3 separate regions of the Homo sapiens genome follow, and regions 1 and 2 are each linked to region 3. The links are contacts of gene promoters, found by promoter capture Hi-C in blood cells and fetal thymus (Javierre and others, 2016). All regions are on one chromosome and are shown on one strand. Each heading gives the region's core, a stretch centred on a gene start or on the middle of the fragment in contact. The rest is flanking DNA. Distances are from core to core; before and after follow the strand shown. Region 1 has its middle 54 kb from the start of COQ2. Region 2 has its middle 35 kb from the start of COQ2. Region 3 holds the start of THAP9 (THAP domain containing 9).

The links. Contacts are between HindIII fragments. The CHiCAGO score rates a contact against its expected background, and 5 or more counts as called.
Region 1: a contact is called between a fragment that was not itself captured here and the fragment with the promoter of THAP9 in region 3, in 1 of 17 cell types (activated CD4 T cells). The highest score is 5.3, in activated CD4 T cells.
Region 2: a contact is called between a fragment that was not itself captured here and the fragment with the promoter of THAP9 in region 3, in 1 of 17 cell types (monocytes). The highest score is 5.7, in monocytes.

The regions. Positions count from the first base shown.
Region 1 is chr4:83,229,789-83,232,505 of GRCh38, reverse strand. No RefSeq gene overlaps it. Among named protein-coding and RNA genes, the nearest start is that of COQ2, 54 kb to the left of the region's middle. The HindIII fragment of the contact is 3,285 bases long and covers 1-2,717 here.
Region 2 is chr4:83,248,074-83,250,831 of GRCh38, reverse strand. It overlaps the pseudogene LOC391674. Among named protein-coding and RNA genes, the nearest start is that of COQ2, 35 kb to the left of the region's middle. The HindIII fragment of the contact is 9,826 bases long and covers 1-2,758 here.
Region 3 is chr4:82,899,223-82,901,984 of GRCh38, reverse strand. THAP9 (THAP domain containing 9) reads right to left here and starts at 1,250. Exons shown (of 5, transcript NM_024672.6): 1 at 1,103-1,250. The coding sequence starts at 1,182. It overlaps THAP9-AS1 (THAP9 antisense RNA 1), which reads left to right and starts at 1,069. Exons shown (of 4, transcript NR_034077.1): 1 at 1,069-1,651; 2 at 1,762-1,908. It also overlaps a transcript of SEC31A not described here. RefSeq lists a silencer at 891-1,240 and enhancers at 766-1,285, 1,551-1,670, 1,286-1,805. The HindIII fragment of the contact is 4,998 bases long and covers 1-2,762 here.

The sequences.
Region 1 (2,717 bases), core at 84-2,583, 330 kb before region 3:
TAATTAGTCCAGAGGTAGGTCTGGGTTCCCATGGTGGCAGGATATTCAAATATCTCAAGATGGCTCACCATGTCATGAATGACATCTTAATTAATCAGTCTTCAAACAGGGGACACAGTGAGAATAAGGACTCCATGTTTCCTGATCTCAAAACACACTTGAGAGTTAAGAGCATGGGAATGACACTTCTGTGAATTACCACTTGGTGCCTGTTCATTTTTCTCTTCTGAGCAAAGTCCTCTCTTGTGAAATTCTAATACTTTGCATAGAATATTCAGAATTTCCAGACCTCATCGTTGAAGATTTCTTTTGCCTTCACAGTCATAAATATGTTGTAAGATTTGTGTTCCCAAGATCAAAGACAGGTCTCACAAGGGGTCCCCTGCTCTACTACCAGGACACCAACATTTGTTCTTGGTGCATCTTACATCAGCAATCTTTGAAATTCATTAGGTGAGGTCCTATATCCTTTGTTGTATCAGTCATCATCCCCAGCACAGGTTAAACCTCAGATTTCTCCACTCTAAGTGTCCTTGCCCTCAGGGAGGGTGACAGGATGTGGGGTTTCTTTCCAATGTTTTAGGACACACTCATAGCAAAACATGTCCACATCCTGTTGCAATCAGTGTGGTCAAATAGTGTGGAACAAATCAGCCCTTCCTGATATCTTCTGCATCTGAGGCAACCGTGTCCCTTATATGATGTCTGTAGTCAAAGGTTAGACTAGACTAGACAAAGGTTGGTTAGAAAACCAACTCTCAACCACAGACCTTGGTAGTTTCACAACTGTTTTTAAATAATCTCTTACTTCCTCCTTCCTCTCCCTTATCAATGGGGAAATGGTGGGAGTCTCTGGAGCAGAAGCCATAAGCTAATGAAATGTCATGGGACTGGACACACTAATGTTAAGGTCTATGGGCTTTACATCCACAGTTCCAAAAATCTGTCATCTCAGAGCATTAGCATCCAGCTATTTTTTTTTTAGTTTTTGTAGAGATGGGGTTTCACCATATTGGCCAGACTGGTCTTGAACTCCTGGCCTCAAGTGATCCACCTGTGTCGGCCTCCCAAAGTGCCCTGAACCAATACGCCTGGCCAAGTGTGTCTCTCTTTAAATAACTCTCCCCCTTTTTTTCTGTTCCACATCATCCTGTTTGGAAGATAGAGATTTCATTTTGCAGCACTTCTCCCAAACACTTGTCATCTTCCCTTTGGGAGTCTCTGTCCAGGGAATCTTATTATTTAGGAAAAATTTTTAGATGTGTCTTACCAAAGTCTCGGATATATATCTAATGATGTCCAACTCTCCCTATCATGAACTCTAGAATAACCTGACCACTTTTGCCCATGGGTTTCTGTCACTTCTACTTTTCAGACTGGTTCCTTCCGGTGGCCAGCATTTGGTACTTCCTCTACTTTCTGTGAAGACTCTCATTTAGTTAAAAAAAAGAAAAAAAAAATTACTGATGCCGTGGAGCATAGTATTTGTAGATACAAAGGACCTCAGAGGTCAGCCCCTCTCACTTGTTATATGAGGCATCTAAAGTTCTAAGGACTGAGATGTTTGCCCAAGGTCATGTAGTTAATAAATATCATCTATATCAGGCCACTTCGTATGATTGGGCAGGATGTTTATTACCAAAAAGCAACCACCTGACGGGTGAGTAGGGACCAAAATCCAGTCTGTGCTCCTCTTGCCTTGCCAAGCTGTGAGTCCTGCTTAGGACTCTATGCCACACCCCACCACCAGAGAAAAAGGCCTCTCTGTGATTTTTATAAAGGCACTATTTGGCTAATAGTGACGCTAATCTATATGTAAACTTTTCTTCTAATTATCTCAAACCTAAGTGTTAGAAAAAAGTTAATTAGGAAGAAACTTTGCATTTTTATTTTAAAGGAATTAGTATCCTATAACTTTTATGTTCCTAACAATTCTTACATCTTTTTCAAATGCTATTTGTTAATTCTTAAGCAATCTTGGCATTCACAGATTGGGTTGTTTGTTTGTTTGTGGAAACAAGGTCTCACTATGTTGCCTAGGCTGGTCTCAGACTCCTGGGCTCAAGCAGTTCTCCCGCCTCAGCCCCCCAAAGTGCTGGAACAACAGGGATGAGCCACCATGCCTGGCCAGATTTGATCATTTTTGCTTCACCTACTCAAATTATGGGGATGGGGTACAGATTCATTTTTGCTTCACCTACTCAAATTATGGGGATGGGATACAGGTTCAGACTAGGGTCTCAGGATCCAGGACTCTGCTTGAGAATAAGAAGGGCTGGCCCAGGGTTATAGGGTGGAACCAAAGAGAGACTTATGCCCCCACCCACATAAGGGCAGCTTTCTGTCTGATACAAAGGACCTAGTCCAAGGAGACAAGAACTTAATCACAAGGGAAAAGTCTGGAGTAGAGGACAGGACAGAGAGTAGTTCAGAGGCAGACGCTGGAAAGATTTCCTGAGACAAAGGTTCCTGGGGAGTGTTCTTTTGTAGGGGCCTCCTGTGTGCTTTGGATAAAACTGGAAAGTCCAAAAGGCCTAGTCAGCCTGCAGAGCTCCGAGGCAATGCAACAATGCCACTGGAGGTCAAGAGGAGGCGATGACATCAGAGACCAATGACCTGGTTTCAGTGGGACAAAACACTGCAACAAGAGCCCAGCAAGTGCCCACTGGGCCAAACAAAAGCCCACTGTGAACCAGCCACAACACCACCAATGCCAC
Region 2 (2,758 bases), core at 82-2,581, 350 kb before region 3:
AATGCGACCATTGAGAGAGGCTTCCAGATTTCAATGGGGATGATGGAATCCCAGAGAGGCAGAGTCAAAGTGACTGCATTTAACCACCAAAGACAAGAAGCGTGGACATATTTACAATACAGGGCAGCAGGAACATAGTGCTAACCAGTTGCCTTAGCTCACAAAGATCTGTGGTGGTAATTGATCATAGTGTTCCTAGGAACAAAATGGATGGGTAGTCAAAAATGTAGCTTGCATCATCATAGTAAAAAGTCACAGCCTTTTACCCAGTTTTCAGACTTAATAAATTTACAGATGCAGAGGGTCTTGATTGAAGAATGTCTCTGGTGGCCCACCCTAACCAGAGCCATGCAGGCAGAAGAACTGTGGGACATGTAGTTCAGTCTAGCCAAGTTGACAATTATAAAGCCACCACTCCTAAGGAAGGCGCAGAGCAGCGATTTGACCGTAGGTGGTCAGGAGTCGCAGCCTCCACTCTTGACTGTTACTCTATTTTGCCTCCTTGGGGTACAAGGTGAAAAAACCCTCAACCCTGGTCTGGAGGGCCTGGAACTCCAGCTGACACCCACCACAGTGTGAGTGATGAGGAAAACACAAGGCAACTGGATCCAGTGGCAAATCTGCCATTTTAAGGGGGATGATTATCTTGTCTTTTCTTCTCTGAGGAAAGAGGCTTCTAGGAAGCTGTACCTGGTGGCTGTTTGTTCATGATGCTACTGTACTGATAAACTCAGACCTTCCTAGGTGGGCACGTAAGGCCTGCTTATCCCCCAGCTAGGGTGAGCAAACCTCCTGGTTTGCCAGGGCATGGGAGTATCTGCACTCAACTATGAAAATACTGGGCAAACCAGCACCCCCAGAATCTGGCAATCCAGCCACCACTCAGCTGCTGCATTGTTTGGGAGGGAGGACAACAAAACAGTACGATGATTTGCTCAGATTTTCTCCCTACTATTTTGAATCTATTAAACAGATTACAGAGACTTTTGGCTCTACTTCAGGATAGAATCAGGTGTGTTAATGTAAGTGTAATATTTTGTAAAGCATACATACTTTTGCTGGGTGCGGTGGCTCACGCCTGTAATCCCAGCACTTTGGGAGGCCGAGGCAGGCGGATCACCTGAGGTCGGGAGTTCGAGACCAGCCTGACCAACATGGAGAAACCCTGTCTCTACTAAAAATACAAAATTAGCCGGGCGTGGTGGTGCATGCCTATAATCTCAGCTATTTGAGAGGCGGAAGCACGAGAATCGCTTGAACCCGGGAGGCGGAGGTTGCGGTGAGCCGAGATCGTGCCATTGCACTCCAGCCTGGGTAACAAGAGTGAAACTCTGTCTCAAAAAAAAAAAAAAAAAAGCATACATACTTTCGAGTCTACATATTCTTTGGCCGTTAGTGTGGATTCCAGTAAGATGGTGGAACATTTACCATAAGCTCAATAGATGGAGAGTTCATTGAGGCAGCTTCGCGGCCCAGAACTACATAAGGTCTGTCATACATTTTCTTTGTAAATAAACCTGAGTTAAAAATAACTTTCTGGCTGGGTGTGGTGGCTCATGCCTATAGTCCCAGCACTTTGGGAAGCAGAGGCAGGAGGATCACTTGAGCCCAGGAATTCAAGACCAACCTGGACAACATGATGAGCCCCCATCTCTATAAAAAATACAAAAATTAGCCAGGTGTGGTGGTGCATGCCTGTAGTCCCAGCTACTTTCAGGGCTGAGGCGGGAGGATCATTTGAGCCTGGGAGGTGGAGGCTGCAGTGAGCCATGATCGTGCTGCTGCACTCCAGCCTGGGTGACAGTGAGACCCTGTCTCAAAATAATAATAATAATAATTTCCTCAGAACTTTTAGAATATTTATTTTTAAGAAGGAAGTGTGTTTAATTTTTTTTTCAGGATTTAGTGGAGGCCATTATTGGATACCAGGGGCAAAGGTCAGCCCAGGGTAAGGTGAGTCCAGGAGAAAGCCCAGCCTGTCCTACAACAGCCCTGCGGCATAGAACCGGTGGTGAGCCTGCCATGGTTTGCTTCTGGGCAGCAGGCTGGACCACCTGGGGAGCATGGAAGACTGTGTCTGTGTTCCCTCAACCATCCCCAAGTTTACAGCAGCCCCACTGTGAGTCAGGAGTCATTCCTGACTCACGGTAGGGACAGTTTGCATTTATGGAAAGCAAACTGGAAGGAGTGGCCTGAGCCCATATTGCCCATGGTAATGACTCCTTGCAATGCGAATAACCAAGGTGAGGCAGGTTGGGCAGGTTTTATCCTCCCCACAAAGGCGAGCCTTTGTGCCACAGCCAGCACCTGGCAGAGTGGGAGAGATAGCAGAACCAGAGCTGCTCATTTCCCTCCATCAGGCTAGAGTGGGTCAGTGGGATCATGGACCGAAAGAAGACATTGAATGGCTGGTCTGTCGCTCAGAAACAGGGTCCTGGAGCTGGAGTGGCCATGGGTTGGGTGGAGAGAGTAGGTGGTATGGCCCCCTTAACCAGACAACTAAAACCAACCTGCCCCTTAGCTGCCCACCCCCAGTGAGTTCTGCCTCAGCTTCCTGCCTAAGCCCTTGTAGAATGCCCTCTAGGGCAAGACTTCTGGAGGGGATGGTCCTGCCCTGAGCCATCCTCACATGAGGGTAGAGCAGTTCATGGGCGCAAAGGGCATCTTGCTGACTGCGCCCATCTGCTGCTTCTGCCGCACCTCTACCAGCAGCATTATCCCTGGCTGACTACTGGCAGGGCATGTAACTCATTGCCAC
Region 3 (2,762 bases), core at 1-2,500:
AAAGTCTTACGTTTTAGTTTTACAAAATTCTACAAGGCAGGTTTTTATTCCTCTTACAGAAGAAGAAACCAAGACCCAGAGCCAAGTACAGACATCAGTAAATACTCAATTAAAATTGGAATTCATGTCTCCCTAGTTTAAAACTACCTCTATCACAAGAAAAATCCCAAATCAATTATGGTCTCACATACACAATGAGTTGGTTCACACTGCTAACAATTTAGGTGGAGGAATCAGCCCTATTTAAAAAATAGAAAACAAAAAAAAAAAAAAATCAATGAATTTTATACATAGCCTACCATACATACTCTAAACTCCTTAACCTGGCATTTACATTTTTAAAATGGTTTCTCAGGTACTTTTCCACTCCTCTATATTTGCACTTTCTATCCTTTACATTTTCCCATGCCATTCCTAACTACCCTCTTCCTACCCCCCCTTTCCAACCATAAAGTTCTTTTTGATCTTTCCATAAATCTGCTCCTTTTGTCTGTGAGGATCTATTTTACCCACTTTTCTACTTGCTAGTGTACCCTGAATACTGAATGACCTATACCAGTCTGAACCATGGATATGAGTTCAGATAAGACTGATCTGAAATTCTTCCCCACTGTCGAGCCAAATGAAACTTCCCTGCCATGATCAAATCCAGCCAGAATCGGACCGGCCTTGCACAGCTCGGCTAACAGCACTTAAGAACTTGCAATGTCAGGCAGTACAGGAGAAAACTGATCTGTACTCGTGCTCAGGAAGACGCCACACACACACTTCAACCGTTGTCCTAAACTGCCTTCCCTTTCGGCCTCCTCACTTCAAATAATAAGACCATCCAATTAATGGAGGACTCCTTTCGCGTAACTCTCCTTAAAGCGGTAGGCGGTGCGAGAACCGGCTATTCAGAGGTAAACACTGGGCGGGAAGAGAGAGAATCTCAATTCTCACAGTGCCCCAATTCCGCTCCCACGCCCCGACGCTGCGCACGTCACGTCGCGTCACACACGCGGCGCGACCCACAGTGCGGCCCGGCCCCGCCCCACGCCACGCCACGGCCCGCCGGGCCCCGCAGGGAGTTCGAAGGCTTCGAGGCTGCTCCCATACGCACTGGTGGAAGGAGAGGCCGCGCTCCCGGCTGAGCACGGTGTCACGGGTGCTGCAGCCCACTGCGGAGCAACTTCGGGTCATCTTCTTGTTACGTGGGGCCCCACCTTCGGGGTTCCCGCGACAGCATGAATCACGACCACTTTAGCTCCGCCCGTTGACTCTGCGGCTACGACCTTTATTTGTCACGAAAGGCGGGCTTTAGAGGCGCGGGACTTCCACACTTCCTCTCCGAAGGCCCTGCGCCGGTGCCGTAGCCAATGACAGGCCACGTTGTGTCCCAGCAGCCAATCGGAAGGGCCTGAGCCTGAAGACGTGCATTTGACCGCTCCTCCCTCCGCGTTGGAGGCGGAATAGTGGGTTTTGCTGCAACCGGTTTATTTTCCTTCTGTTTTCACCCATTCTGGCACAATCTGGCGCCATCGTCCTTCTTGTGAGGCCAAGCCTGAAAATGCGAAGCAGAGAGGCAGGACCAAAATTGAGGCGAATCCAGGAACCTGCCAATGGGTCTCCGGGTGCGGTCTCTGAAACTGGAGGATATCGGGAGGAAAGGGTATGGAAGAGGGATAAAACACGGTGCCTTAGGTGTGTTGAAGACAGAGTCGGGCCAAAAATATATGATTTACTGAGATGCGTGTCGTGTTCTTGCGCTTTATCTTGTAGCTCTCCGATGCGGAGATAATGGGGAAGCTCTTGGCATGGTTGGCTGTAGGTATGTGATACCGGAGGAGCAGGAGTCAAATAGGATACGCCGACTTTTAATTCAAGGAACCCTTTTCTGAAACACTTTGCCACAATGAAGGAAATAAGGTAAGGTTCTTGGGGCTCCTCAGTAGTAATAGGGGCAGGGGACAAGGGGCAATTAAGTGGTTTTGGTTGGGAATGAGGCATTATGAATAGCTTTCAGGAGATAGAGCTTAGAACAATGTCTTAGTTATAAGCTCTTATGTTTGAGGAAGAGATTTCAATTTGCTTAGAGAAGGAAACGGGCCAGTGGGTTTTTGTCTCTGAGAAGGAGATCCTTAGCATACAGAAAACAGAGAAGGGTTTGCAACTTTTCCGTTTCTTTGTATAGCACACAAAAATAATTCCAAATATCCAGGCCTAACAAGATTGCTTCTTTTTCCCCTTTGTGTTTACTTTGTCCAGATTACAGCCGAAGATACATATTAAGGTATTACTTATTCACACCAGTTTTCCATTATAATATGCTTGTATCTTCTCTGAATGGAATTAATAGCTTTTGGTTATGGTTCCTTAAAAGTCACATGGCCTAAGGATAGATGGTCAAGGAACTTTGGAAAAATTGGTCCCTGGGGGATGTGCAGGGCAAATACTTTTTGGCTGTAAGGTGTGTGCAGAGAGTAAGAACTGGATTTAAATACTGTAAGTTGGTTGGGCTGTTAGAGCCTTTTCCTGCTCAACCAATTAAGACCCGAGTGAGGCTGAATAAAAATAACATTGTTTTTAGCTATCTTTAAGGAAAAAATTAGTTGCCTTATATTTTTGTAACAGTTTTACTCAGATATAATTCTCATACCACACAACTAATTGGTTTAAAGTGTACAATTCAGTGGGTTTTAGTATATGCACAGAATTGTGGAACAGTCACAATCAATATTAGAACATTTTCATCACTCCAGAAAGAAACCTCATTCTTACTA